3 separate regions of the Homo sapiens genome follow, and all the other regions are linked to region 1. The links are contacts of gene promoters, found by promoter capture Hi-C in blood cells and fetal thymus (Javierre and others, 2016). All regions are on one chromosome and are shown on one strand. Each heading gives the region's core, a stretch centred on a gene start or on the middle of the fragment in contact. The rest is flanking DNA. Distances are from core to core; before and after follow the strand shown.

Region 1 (3,779 bases), core at 775-3,274:
CCAAAGCCTGGCTCAGGAGGGAGCTAAGAGATGAGACTCCCGTGTGCAGAGACAGGTGGCCCCGGGGAAGGAAGAGGCCACTCGGAGGCTCCGAGAACGGAGGCAGCGCGGGGGCTTCCTGGGGCCCGTGCATCGGAGGAACAAGGCCAAGCGGAGGGAAGCAGCAGGAACCAGGACCCCTGCAGATGGTGGAGGCAAGAGGCTTTATCTGAGCCTTTGGGACCCTGGCCACCTGCCCAGCTCCATCTGCATGGGAGAACCTAGGGGAGGGGCTGGTTCTGGTACCTGGGCCCACTGAGGCCTTGAGCTGAGCTTCCAGTTCTGGCAGGTCCCCAGCACAGCAGCCTGGGGGCTCCTCTGGCACAGAAGGCCTCGCCCTCTGTGCTCTCTGCAGCCGCCACTGGGATTAAGGGGACCAGGTGTGTCTGTGGCACCTGTGCCCTCCTAGGCATCTCGCCAGCCACCAGCTGAACAGGTTTGGTGCTCCTGGGTATCTGGGAGGGGCTGGGGACGTTCCTGCCTCCTGGTGTGGCTTAGACTGAAAGTCCTGCACGTCCGAACTCAGGGATACTCGAGGCTTCCTGGACATAGACTCACGGGCCCAGAGTCTGGCCGGGCTCTGAGGGACGCTGCCCGGCCAGGTGCCCCGGCACCCTCCTTCCGCATTCCCCACCCCCCACCCCTCCCCCTGCATCCTCCCCAACCGACCCCAGACAGAGCTGGGAGGGCCTGAGGGACACTGCCCAGGCCGGCACCCCGCTGCCCCTCCCCACCTTGGTCAGCGCTGAGCTGGGCTGCCCAGAAATCTATGAGCCTGTTAAATAATCCAGATTATTGTTCTTAATCTCAAAACAATGAGTGGAAGGTGCCATTATTTCTCTTTGCAATAAAAATAAAAGTTGAAATACGCAGTTTAGGGACTTTCCTTACCACCCCTTGCAGACTTTGAATTTCCCTTCCCGCCCCTTCCTGCCCCCTTGTGGCTGCCAGTCCAGGTCCCTGGGTTGGAGCTCCCGGGTGGACACAGTAGGGTCAGTGGGAGGGTGGGGCGGGGAGGGGCCTCCAGGGAGGGGGTGTCCCGAGTCTCAGGGGCTGGGGGGCAGGCGGCCGTCGGGTGCAGGTGGGGGTCACGGCAGGGCTCACTCAGGCATGAGTCGGGAGAAGGGAGGCCAGCTGGAAGGGGGCAGGGGTCCTGCGGGCTGGACAGGAGGAGGCAGAGGCTGGAGGCGGGAGGGGCTGCCTGGGAGGGACCTGTGGCCTTGGGCCCCAGCGCCATGGGCGCTTCCAGGCCGCACTCACGGTCCTTGCCTGCCCCCTGGCGTCCGTGTGGAGGAAGGCAGTGCCCGTTTCTTCAGCCGTGGGTGCCCCTGGCTCTGCCTCCCCGGGGATCCCCCAAAACCCTCGGGCCCTCCTCTTCCGGGAAGTCCTCCGGGCCGACCCACACAGCTGTCGCTGCCCTGATTCCACTCCCTCTTCCCTGCTTGGCCCTTACCCGAGGGCGGGCCTGCCCATGAGGCCGCTCTCAGGACGCCTGCCCACAGCAGCTCCTGACATTGGGCCCTGTGCTCAGGGGTGGAGTCTGGGGCTGGGTGAGGGCACCGACGGGTGGAGGGGAAGCTGCCGGAAGCGGGGAGAGAGGCGGCCCCCACCTGTGCCCCCGCAGCTCTGAGGGTTGGGAAGGCAGCGCCTGCAGCCCTCACCTTCCTGCCCTCAGGCTGCGAGGCTTGTTCCCAGAGGGCCGTTGGCTTCCCTGAGTGCCTGAGTGTCCATAAGTTGGACCCCCAAGAAGCCCCAACCGGGAGGTCCTCCTCCCCCTCTCCTGCGCTCAGGCCGGCCCTGGCGGTGCTTGCCCAGTGGGTTCCCATAGTGCGGGCGCTAAGTGCTCAGATGGGCCCCAGTGGGCCTGAGGACTTGTGGGGCCGGCTGGGCCCTCAGGAGGAGCCGGGGTGCTCTGGAGCGCCTGTGGGTGCTGGGTGTGGCTGCTTCCCGGCCTGTCATGAGGAAGTGGGACGGCCCGCCTGCCACGCCCAGCTCTGGGTGCTCCAGCTGGGCCACAGCCTGGTCCTGCCGCTGCGCCCGCCCGCCATGGTGTCCCGGGACCAGGCTCACCTGGGCCCCAAGTATGTGGGCCTCTGGGACTTCAAGTCCCGGACGGACGAGGAGCTGAGCTTCCGCGCGGGGGACGTCTTCCACGTGGCCAGGAAGGAGGAGCAGTGGTGGTGGGCCACGCTGCTGGACGAGGCGGGTGGGGCCGTGGCCCAGGGCTATGTGCCCCACAACTACCTGGCCGAGAGGGAGACGGTGGAGTCGGAACCGTGCGTGTCCTAGGCTGCTGGGAGCTTTGGCACAGGCCACCCTCTAGGCACAGGGGAGGGACAGGGCTCTGGGCTGCTCAGGGAGGCCCAAGAAGGTGGGGACCCCGGTTCCATCTTCCTGCACCCCAAAGTCCAGGCTGGGCATCCCGCTTGATCCTCCCTGCAGGCCCCATGCGCTGGCGCCCAGGAGTGCCCAGGACTGTCCCTGCGGGAGTTGGAGCACGGGGGTCAGAGGGCACGGCCCCTGCCTTGGGCTCATCCTTGTCACAGCTCGGGGGTGGACGCTGCATTGCCGGGACCCAGGGAGGACAGAGGGTCCAGGGTGGACTTCTGGGGCCCGGTGGCCAGTGACAAGGTCTGTCGGAGCGTTCCAGGGCCTTTGGGGGAAACGAAGCTTGAAGCTTGCCCAGTTTCCAAAGTGCCGGAACCAGACACACGACCTAGTTAGGGGAGCGGGCCGGCTGCCGGGCAAACTTCCTGCCTGCTGTGCCCTGCGGGGAACCAGACAGCAGCTGGTGTGGCCTGGCCCTGGCTTCCACAGCTGCCCGGAGCTCAGGCTGAGGAGGGTCACGCTCCTGAGATCCCGCGTTTCTCATCAGTGATTGGGCACCCACTGTGTGTGTGCGTGAGTCACAGGCTGTGTAGGGTTAGCTCCCGGGGGACCCAAGCAACAAGCAGGGGAGGCTGTAAAGAGGCCGTCGGGCAGGGGCCCATGGTGGAGACCCCTCTATTACGTGCAGACCCACGACCTCGTTAGCAGGGTCACGCGCAGACCCACGACCTCGTTAGTGAGCAGGGGTGCAGGGGTGGGGTCTGGCCGGAGGCTGGTCAGCTCCCAGGTGCAAAGACCCTGAGTCCTGAGAACTCGCCCAGGTGAGAAGTGGGGAGGAGGCCAGGTGAGGAGGGGGTGGGAGGCCAGGTGGGGGGGGGAGCGGGAGGCTAGGTGGGGGGGGCTGGAGGCCAGGTGAGGGGGGGCGGGAGGCCAGGTGGGGGGGGCGGGAGACCAGGAGAGGAGGGGACGGGAGGCCAGGAGAGGAGGGGGCGGGAGGCCAGGAGAGGAGGGGGCGGGAGGCCAGGTGAGGAGGGGGCGGGAGGCCAGGTGAGGGGGGGGCGGGAGGCCAGGTGAGGGGGGTGCGGGAGGCCAGGTGAGGACGGGGTGGGAGGCCAGGTGAGGGGGGGGCGGGAGGCCAGGTGAGGAGGGGGCGGGAGGCCAGGTGAGGAGGGGGCGGGAGGCCAGGTGAGGGGGGGGGCGGGAGGCCAGGTGAGGAGGGGGCGGGAGGCCAGGTGAGGAGGGGGCGGGAGGCCAGGTGAGGGGGGGGGCGGGAGGCCAGGTGGTTGGAGGGGCAGGTGGGGCAGTGCTTCCAGGTGTGCGGAAGTGGAGGGGGTGGACCCCAGGGGCTCCATGCTGGGCCGTGGTCTTCTGTGTGGGGTTTGTGTTCCAGTGACCTGAGGGAGTCAGACACA
Region 2 (3,779 bases), core at 720-3,219, 350 kb before region 1:
ACAGGGACACCCTGGGCTCTCGTACTGAAGTTATGAAAAGTCTGTGCAGTTCTTCATGCACATCTCTCAGAGAAGCAAACGGAAGACCAAGGACACTTCTGGGACAGCAGAGTGATAAGGAGACAAGAGGAGAAAGCAGGCCAGCTCCATCCCACTCAGTCCCTCCCACACAAACAGATACCCCTCCCAGGCCCGGGGACTCTAGAGGCCAGCACGTCTGCGACACCCAGCCAGAGTCCCCACAAGGAGAACAGGGCTCTCCTGAGAATCAGGGCGGTGCCTGACGGCGCAGGCACAGAATAGGGACCACAGTTCTGGGCTCTCCTGAGAATCAGGGCAGTGCCTCACGGCACAGGCACAGAATCCTGAGAATCAGGGTGGTGCCTGACAGGCACAGAATAAGGACCACAGCTCTGGGTGTTTCCGTGAAGGCTGAGACCGTGAAGTGTCCTGAGTGACAGCCCACCAGGGCAAGTGCCAGGATCTGTGTGCGAGCCCCTCGAACCCCACCCCACCCACTGCAGGCAGCCAGGGTCAGGACTTGGAAAGGACACGGCCCAGTTTGACACAAGGATCTCCTCTGGAGGCTGCAGGTGAAGAGCCTGACCCCCTACCAGCTCTTCCTCGTCAGCCTAGAGGGGGTTTTTACCGGCCCTTAGTCATCAGAGGTTGCCAAGGGAATGGAGTCCTCAATTAATCCAGGAATATGGGAAGGGCAAGGTGTAACCGGCGGGAGCTGCCCCAACCCCCACCAGAGACACCCGGCTCTGGAGCCGCAGCGAGCAGGCATACATTACCTCATGGCTGGCATACTTATTGAGTGGCGGATGGAGTAGCTGCTGCTTGGAAGCATGGCAGAAGCAGAGAAGGAAGCAAGAGTTAACACCAAGATCCACACACAACCCCAACTTGGCAGGGATGGGCAGAGCTGGGATTCCCCCACTCCCAGCAGTTGGAGCGAGCTGCCTGCCCCTCCACACAATGCCCCCGAAGGAAACTCGACCCCAGGGTCCTCCCTTGGCCTCATGGGGGGCACCCCAAGTTGCCCAGCGCATAGCACTGGGAGGGGGGAGAGCACTGCCATAGGAAGCTGTGAGGAGACCAGGCTTGGGCTTTTGAAAAGTATTTGGTACAAACAGCCTTCAGAAGTCAAGTAAGGACCTTTTGGCAAAAGAGAAACCACCAAGTCAAGTAAAAACACAAGAAATCACAGATTGTTCTGGGCCTGGCTCTAGACCTCCCGGTTCCAGCAGAAGGGCACGTGCTGGCGGCGCCCCGGCTTGGCCTAGAGGAGCTTGCTCTGGTCTGCAGGAGGGCCCTTTGGGAGGCACACCTATGGGCTCTCGGGTAGTAAACAAGACAAAACTCCATCTGAAGGAAAACAAGGAAACAGGACAGATGTTGAACAGGAAGGTGGTGAGAGTCGGCACAGCCCTCCCACGTGAAAAGGCTCCTTTGAGGGCCCGGCGCAGTGGCTCACGCCTGTAATCCCAGCACTTTGGGAGGCCAAGGCGGGTGGATCACGAGGTCAGGAGATCGAGACCATGCTGGCCAACATGGTGAAACCCCGTCTCTACTAAAAATACAAAAATTAGCCAGGCGTGGTGGCTCATGCCTGTAATCCCAGCTACTCAGGAGCCTGAGGCAGGAGAACCGCTTGAACCAGGGAGCTGGAGGTTGCAGTGAGCCGAGATCACACCACTGTGCTCCAGCCTGGTGATAGAGCGAGACTCCAACAAAAAAAAGAAAAAAAAGGCCGGGCGCGGTGGCTCACGCTTGTAATCCCAGCACTTTGGGAGGCCGAGGCGGGCGGATCACGAGGTCGGGAGATCGAGACCACGGTGAAACCCCGTCTCTACTAAAAATACAAAAAATTAGCCGGGCGTGGCGGCGGGCGCCTGTAGTCCCAGCTACTCGGAGAGGCTGAGGCAGGAGAATGGCGTGAACCCGGGAGGCGGAGCTTGCAGTGAGCCGAGATCGCGCCACGGCACTCCAACCTGGGCGACAGAGCAAGACTCCGTCTAAAAAAAAAAAAAAGCTCCTTTTCAGGAGTAAACTCAGGCCTGGACGCCAGGCCAGTTATTCACAGACCCGGCAGCAGGCGGTCTGTGAGCCTGAAGGGAAGCACGAGGAGGGGACACAGAAGGGCCGGGGGGTTCCGGGGGGCCTCTGCGTCGATCCCACGCTGCTGCTTTGTTCCCTGAGATGCAGCAACCACCTGGCTGGCACTGCTGTCCTGGAAGGGGTGATCCCACTTTCACTGCCCTCTACTAGCACAGCCGCCCAAGGGCCCTGCCGGAGTCCACCCTGCCCCAATTCAGAGAAAAGTCTTCCACAGGTGTGTCCAGGCTCAGCCTTACCTAAAGGAGTGTGAAAATGGATGAGCCCTGGAAGGTGGCAGCAGGAGAGAAGAGGAAACGAAGTGTAAGCAAGGGAGGCCAGCACCCACTCACAGCCCTCCTCGGGGAGCCCCAGGGGAGGCCCCCTGCTCGTGCTCAGTCAGGCCCAGCAGGGGAAGACCCTCCAGGACGGCTCCTCCAGTCCGCACACCACCGGGGACAGCAGCACTGTCTCCAGTCTCCTCAAGTCCTGACTCAACAGGAGGCTCTCGCAAGATCATGACTAGCAACTGCTCAGCCTCACGGCTGTGCCCAAGAGGCCCCTGGGTCCACGCCCTGTCCACGCCTTATGCCCCAAGGCACACCTGTTTGGAGAAGCCACAGCACCTGGAGCACAACCAGCCCCATCCAGCAGCGCAAAGGTGTGAAATGTGCCACAGCATGACAGCTGGGCTTGGCCAGCTCCACAGAACGAGAGCGGCCCGTGTTCCCCAAATCACGTCAGCTGAGGGAGCACACGCACCGTGGGAGGATGTGGGACACCCTTGGCGCCGAGCATTTCTGCTCTGCGCTCCATCCGTGCCCACAGACGCCAACCTGGAAACCTGTGTGTCCAAGGGCAGCTGCTGCCACTCACTGCAGCCAGGCCCACTCTGACATGGAGGGAGCCACTGAAGAACTGAGAAACACTCAACTCGCCCGAGGTCCTGAGAGGGCCGATGCCTCATCTGAGACCACGGAGTCAGACGGTGACCTGACCCTGCTGTAAACCCCCACTCTGACCTGAATCCAGTTCCCTTCCTCCCATCCCCATCACCCATGCCCCAGGGCACACCAAAGGCCTCACAGACCGGGGCTGCCCTGGGACAGGCCCATCATGGACACGGGCGTTGGGCAGCTGTCCAGAGGGGCTTCCGCCCAAGAGTTAGCAGGGGTCCGCCGGGGTTCATCCAGCCCTAAACTCATGACATAAACCTCCCAGAACCCAATTTTCACTTTCAGGAAGTAGTGAGCTCTCAACCTCAGTCTCTAACTCGAGGTGAATGGGCCCAGACCTCAGAAACCACCTGTGACTGCTTGGGGAGATGATGGGGATACACCAGGGGCTCCAGACGTCAGAGTTCCCACCACCACTACAAACATAAATGGAGGAGCAAGCAGGGCAAGACACACCAGCAAACAGGACCCTCCACGGGCACCGTGAACACGGCCAGCCAACTGGAGCGAGCTGGCTCGTCCCAGGTCAGCCTGAGGCCCCGCTCCCCCAGCTGGCCCCATGTACCAGGGCACACGTGCAAACACGTGGCACAGTGTGGCTGGGCACACTGACAGCTGTGCCAGCGTCACTGCAACAGGAACTCTGCTCACTGCCAGCCATGCCCTGAGGCTACACGACACGGGTCAGCTGCCAACCCCAGGACTGAGCAGAGAGCGAAAGCC
Region 3 (3,779 bases), core at 860-3,359, 270 kb before region 1:
TTGGAACCAATTAGCTTTTTGGGTTATTTCCTTGGGGCAGAGTCTCAGAAGTGGAATTAGTCAAAGAGGCAGAGGCATCTGTAGGCCTCATCCCCACGCTGCAGGCTGCTTCAAGGGCCGCCCCACTCTGGGCCTCCTGTGTCACGGCCACCTTTGTAATTGACATTACGTTAATGTTTGCCAGTTCCATGTATTTAGAGTTTTCTTTTCTTTTTTTTTTTTTGAGAGAGGGCCTTGCTGTGTCACCCATGCCGGAGTACAGTGGTGCCATCTTGGCTCACTCCAACCTCGACCTCCCGACTCAAGGGATCCTCCCACTTCATCCTCCAGAGTCGCGGGGACTACAGGTGTGCACCACCATGCCCGGCTAATTTTTTCTATTTTTTGTAGAGATGGGGTCTCACCATGTTGCCCAGGCTGGTCTTGAACTTTTGGGCTCAAGCCATCTGCTCGCCCCGGCTTCCCTCAGCGTTGGGATTTCAGGCATGAGCCACCATTCTGGCCTGGCCTTGAAATCTTTTCTCAGAGTTAAGCACGTGTCTTTTAAGTCCTTTCCAGAAATCTTTAAAATTGTATCATTGAGTTAAGCCACACTGGCCACCACACGGCTAACTTCGTAAGGGAGAAGAGGGGAGAGGAAGGGAGGTCGCGGAGCTCCTGCTGTCTCCCGGAGTCCTCTCCACCTGCTGGGCTCTGGCAGGTTTGCTGAGGACCGCGTGAGGGCGCTGCTGTCTTCTGGGCTCAGGGCTCCTGTGAGCTCCTGAGGCCTGGACCCAGGGGTGGCCTTTGTTGCTCCCTTGGGCATAATATGGGGGGACACAGGCAAGATGTGGGGCCACCACCCCAGCAGGCCTGTGCCGAACCCCAGGACCCCATTCCTGGAATAGACGCGGCCATGAGGACTGGACGCGCTGGGCGTGGCCCACGGCGGGGCCCCCAGGGCTGCGCCCCCAGGGCTGCTGACCTTGCCCCCCTTGGCTCCACCGAGTCTGCACCTTTAGTGCCCACTTCGGCCAAGCCCATGGCGAAGTGCCCCAGGCGCTGCGGTCCCTGCGAAGGGGAACGTGGAAGGCGAACGTGGAGAGCCCCTTGAGTGCCTCTGCAGCACCGGAGCACCGAGCCGCCAGCTCCCAGGTCTTACCTCATGAATCATGGAGTTTTCTTTCTTTTTTTTTTTTCTTTTTCTTTTTTTTTTTTTTTTTTTTTTTGAAGCGGAGTCTCGCTCTGCCGCCCAGGCTGGAGTGCAGTGGCGCCATCTCGGCTCACCGCAAGCTCCGCCCCCCGGGTTCCCGCCATTCTCCTGCCTCAGCCTCCCGAGTAGCTGGGACTGCAGGCGCCCCCACCACGCCCGGCTAATTTTTTTTTGTATTTTTTAGTAGAGACGGGGTTTCACCATGTTAGCCAGGATGGTCTTGATCTCCTGACCTCACCATCCGCCCGCCTCGGCCTCCCAAAGTGCTGGGATTACAGGCGTGAGCCACCGCGCCTGCTGGTTTTATTTCTTAAGGCGGCCTTGGCGCCTGTCCTGGCCGAGCGCTGGACCGAGGAGGGCCTTCTCTGGGGGAGGCTCTGTCCGCCTCCCACCCACGCTGGAGGAGCTCAGGTCTCATGGGGAGGCAGGACTCGCTTAGGGGCGGGAGGTCACACTGCCCCGGAGCCCAGGCCCTGCCCTAGGAGGAAGAGCCTGGCTTCCCCCTTCCCTCCCGCCGGGCCCGGGGCTGAGACTCCTTGTGGGTCCGGATGACCCTGTCCGTGACCTCCGCCCTGGCCCCGCTTCCGCCCCACGCCCCCCTGAAGCCCCGGGCTCCGTGGCGTCTGCCTTCCGGGCCCTCCCCTGCGCTCAGCCCCCGGGGCAAGGGCTGGGAAGGATGGCTTGACTGGCCTACAGGGTACAGGGGACCCCTGACAGGTTCATCGCTGGGGCCCCATGGGCCCCCCCTCCGTCTGTGCCGTGCGGATGTGGAGACTGAGGACTCCTCCATCGAAGGCGGCCGGTGGTGAAATCCAGTAATCTGGGTGGGGTCCTTACCGCGCTGTCCGCGGGGTTTCCTCACTGCTCAGGCGGCTGCTGCTCATCCACGCCACCTCCGTCGGTCCGTTCAGCTTCCGTGAGTGTCCCCTGTGGGAAGGTCCGTTCAGCTTCCGTGAGTGTCCCCTGTGGGAAGGTCCGTTCAGCTTCCGTGAGTGTCCCCTGTGGGAAGGTCCGTTCAGCTTCCGTGAGTGTCTCCTGTGGGAAGGTCCGTTCAGCTTCCGTGAGTGTCCCCTGTGGGAAGGGCCTGTGCCGCACAAGGTGGGGACTTGGGCACACGGCCTCGGAGGCCAGACACCGGGCGAGCCCCGCTCTGGGAGTGAGACCCGCTCGGAGGGGGAGCGAGCCCTGAGGCGCCGCCTGTAAGCCAGACCCGCTGCCTCACACAGACGGGTGCTTCGCTTGTTTTGGCCTAGTACAGCTTTTAAGCAAAAAGTAACTGGTTAGGGATTCTATCATATTGCTTGATGTAAACAAATGCGGCAAAATGTTAAAAAATGGAGTAGCTGAAGGCCGGGCGCGGTGGCTCACACCTGTAGTCCCAACACTTTGGGAGGCCGAGGCGGGCAGATTGCTTGAGGCCAGGAGTTCGAGACCAGCCTGGCCAACATGGTGAAACCCCGTTCCTACTAAAAATGCAAAAATTAGCCAGGTATGCTGGCGTGCGCCTGTAGTCCGAGATACTGGGGAGGCTGAGGTGGGAGAATCACTCGAACTCGGGAGGTAGAAGTTGCAGTGAGCCAAGATGGCGCCACTGCACTCCAGCCTGGGTGACAGAGCGAGACCAAACTGACTCAAGAAGAAACAGAAAATCTGAATAGACCTATAACAAATAAAGAATCAGTAGTCAAAAAACTTCCAATGAAAGAAAAGTTCAGAAACTTTCACTACAGTTATTGTACTTTTTAGCTTCCAAAAAGAAAAGTCAATTTCAATAAAGAAATTGAATCAATAGTCAATAAACTTCCAACAAAAGAAAAGTCCATCTCTGTCTCTCTCTATATATGTATATGATTGTATATATCACTTCACTGTTGAATTCTATCAAACATTTTAAGAATTAACACCAATCCTGGCCAGGCGTGGTGGCTCACGCCTGTAATCCCAGCACTTTGGGAGGCCGAGGCAGGTGCATCATGAGGTCAGGAGATCGCGACTATCCTGGCTAACACGGTGAAACCCCGTCTCTACTAAAAATACAAAAAATTAGCCGGGTGTGGTGGCGGGCGCTGGTAGTCCCAGCTACTCAGGAGGCTGAGGCAGGAGAATGGCGTGAACCTGGGAGGCGGAGCTTGCAGTGAGCCGAGATGGCGCCACTGCACTCCATCCTGGCCGACAGAGCGAGACTCCATCTCAAAAAAAAAAACCAAAACAAAACAATTAGCTGGGCGTGGTGGTGGGCGCCTGTAGTCCCAGCTACATGGGAGGCTGAGGCAGGAGAATCGCTTGAACGTGGGAGGTGGAGGTTTTAGTGAGCCAAGGTCGCACCGTTGCACTCCAGCCTGGGTGACAGAGCCAGATTCCATCTCAAAAAAAGAGAAAGATTCCATCATATTCCTTGAGAGCATAGTGTTGCCTTTATTTTAAGCAGGTATTACAACCTTCTTATTTAGGTTCTATTTTTTTTGAAGTTACCATTTCAGGTCAGAGTTAGCCATAGCAGTATCTCAGATTTAAAATGTACACAAATAGTTTTCTTGCCTTGTTAAGCTGATTAGCTTTCTTTTCTTTCTTTTTTTTTTTTTTTTGA

What was found. Contacts are between HindIII fragments. The CHiCAGO score rates a contact against its expected background, and 5 or more counts as called.
Region 2: a contact is called between a fragment that was not itself captured here and the fragment with the promoter of PTK6 in region 1, in 2 of 17 cell types (monocytes and naive B cells). The highest score is 6.3, in monocytes.
Region 3: the fragment with the promoter of ZBTB46-AS1 here is called in contact with the fragment with the promoter of PTK6 in region 1 in 11 of 17 cell types (megakaryocytes, naive CD8 T cells, neutrophils and 8 more); the score reaches 7.5 in megakaryocytes.

The regions. Positions count from the first base shown.
Region 1 is chr20:63,535,621-63,539,399 of GRCh38, reverse strand. PTK6 (protein tyrosine kinase 6) reads left to right here and starts at 2,024. Exons shown (of 8, transcript NM_005975.4): 1 at 2,024-2,315. The coding sequence starts at 2,086. It overlaps SRMS (src-related kinase lacking C-terminal regulatory tyrosine and N-terminal myristylation sites), which reads left to right. Exons shown (of 8, transcript NM_080823.4): 8 at 1-911. RefSeq lists silencers at 966-1,235, 1,566-1,715 and an enhancer at 1,836-1,925. The HindIII fragment of the contact is 2,955 bases long and covers 1-2,711 here.
Region 2 is chr20:63,884,624-63,888,402 of GRCh38, reverse strand. All of the region lies in intron 5 of TPD52L2 (TPD52 like 2), which reads right to left. Among named protein-coding and RNA genes, the nearest start is that of DNAJC5, 8.6 kb to the left of the region's middle. RefSeq lists a silencer at 2,001-2,171. The HindIII fragment of the contact is 6,643 bases long and covers 1-3,779 here.
Region 3 is chr20:63,806,406-63,810,184 of GRCh38, reverse strand. ZBTB46-AS1 (ZBTB46 antisense RNA 1) reads right to left here and starts at 2,109. Exons shown (of 3, transcript NR_110081.1): 1 at 2,030-2,109. All of the region lies in intron 1 of ZBTB46 (zinc finger and BTB domain containing 46), which reads left to right. The HindIII fragment of the contact is 29,160 bases long and covers 1-3,779 here.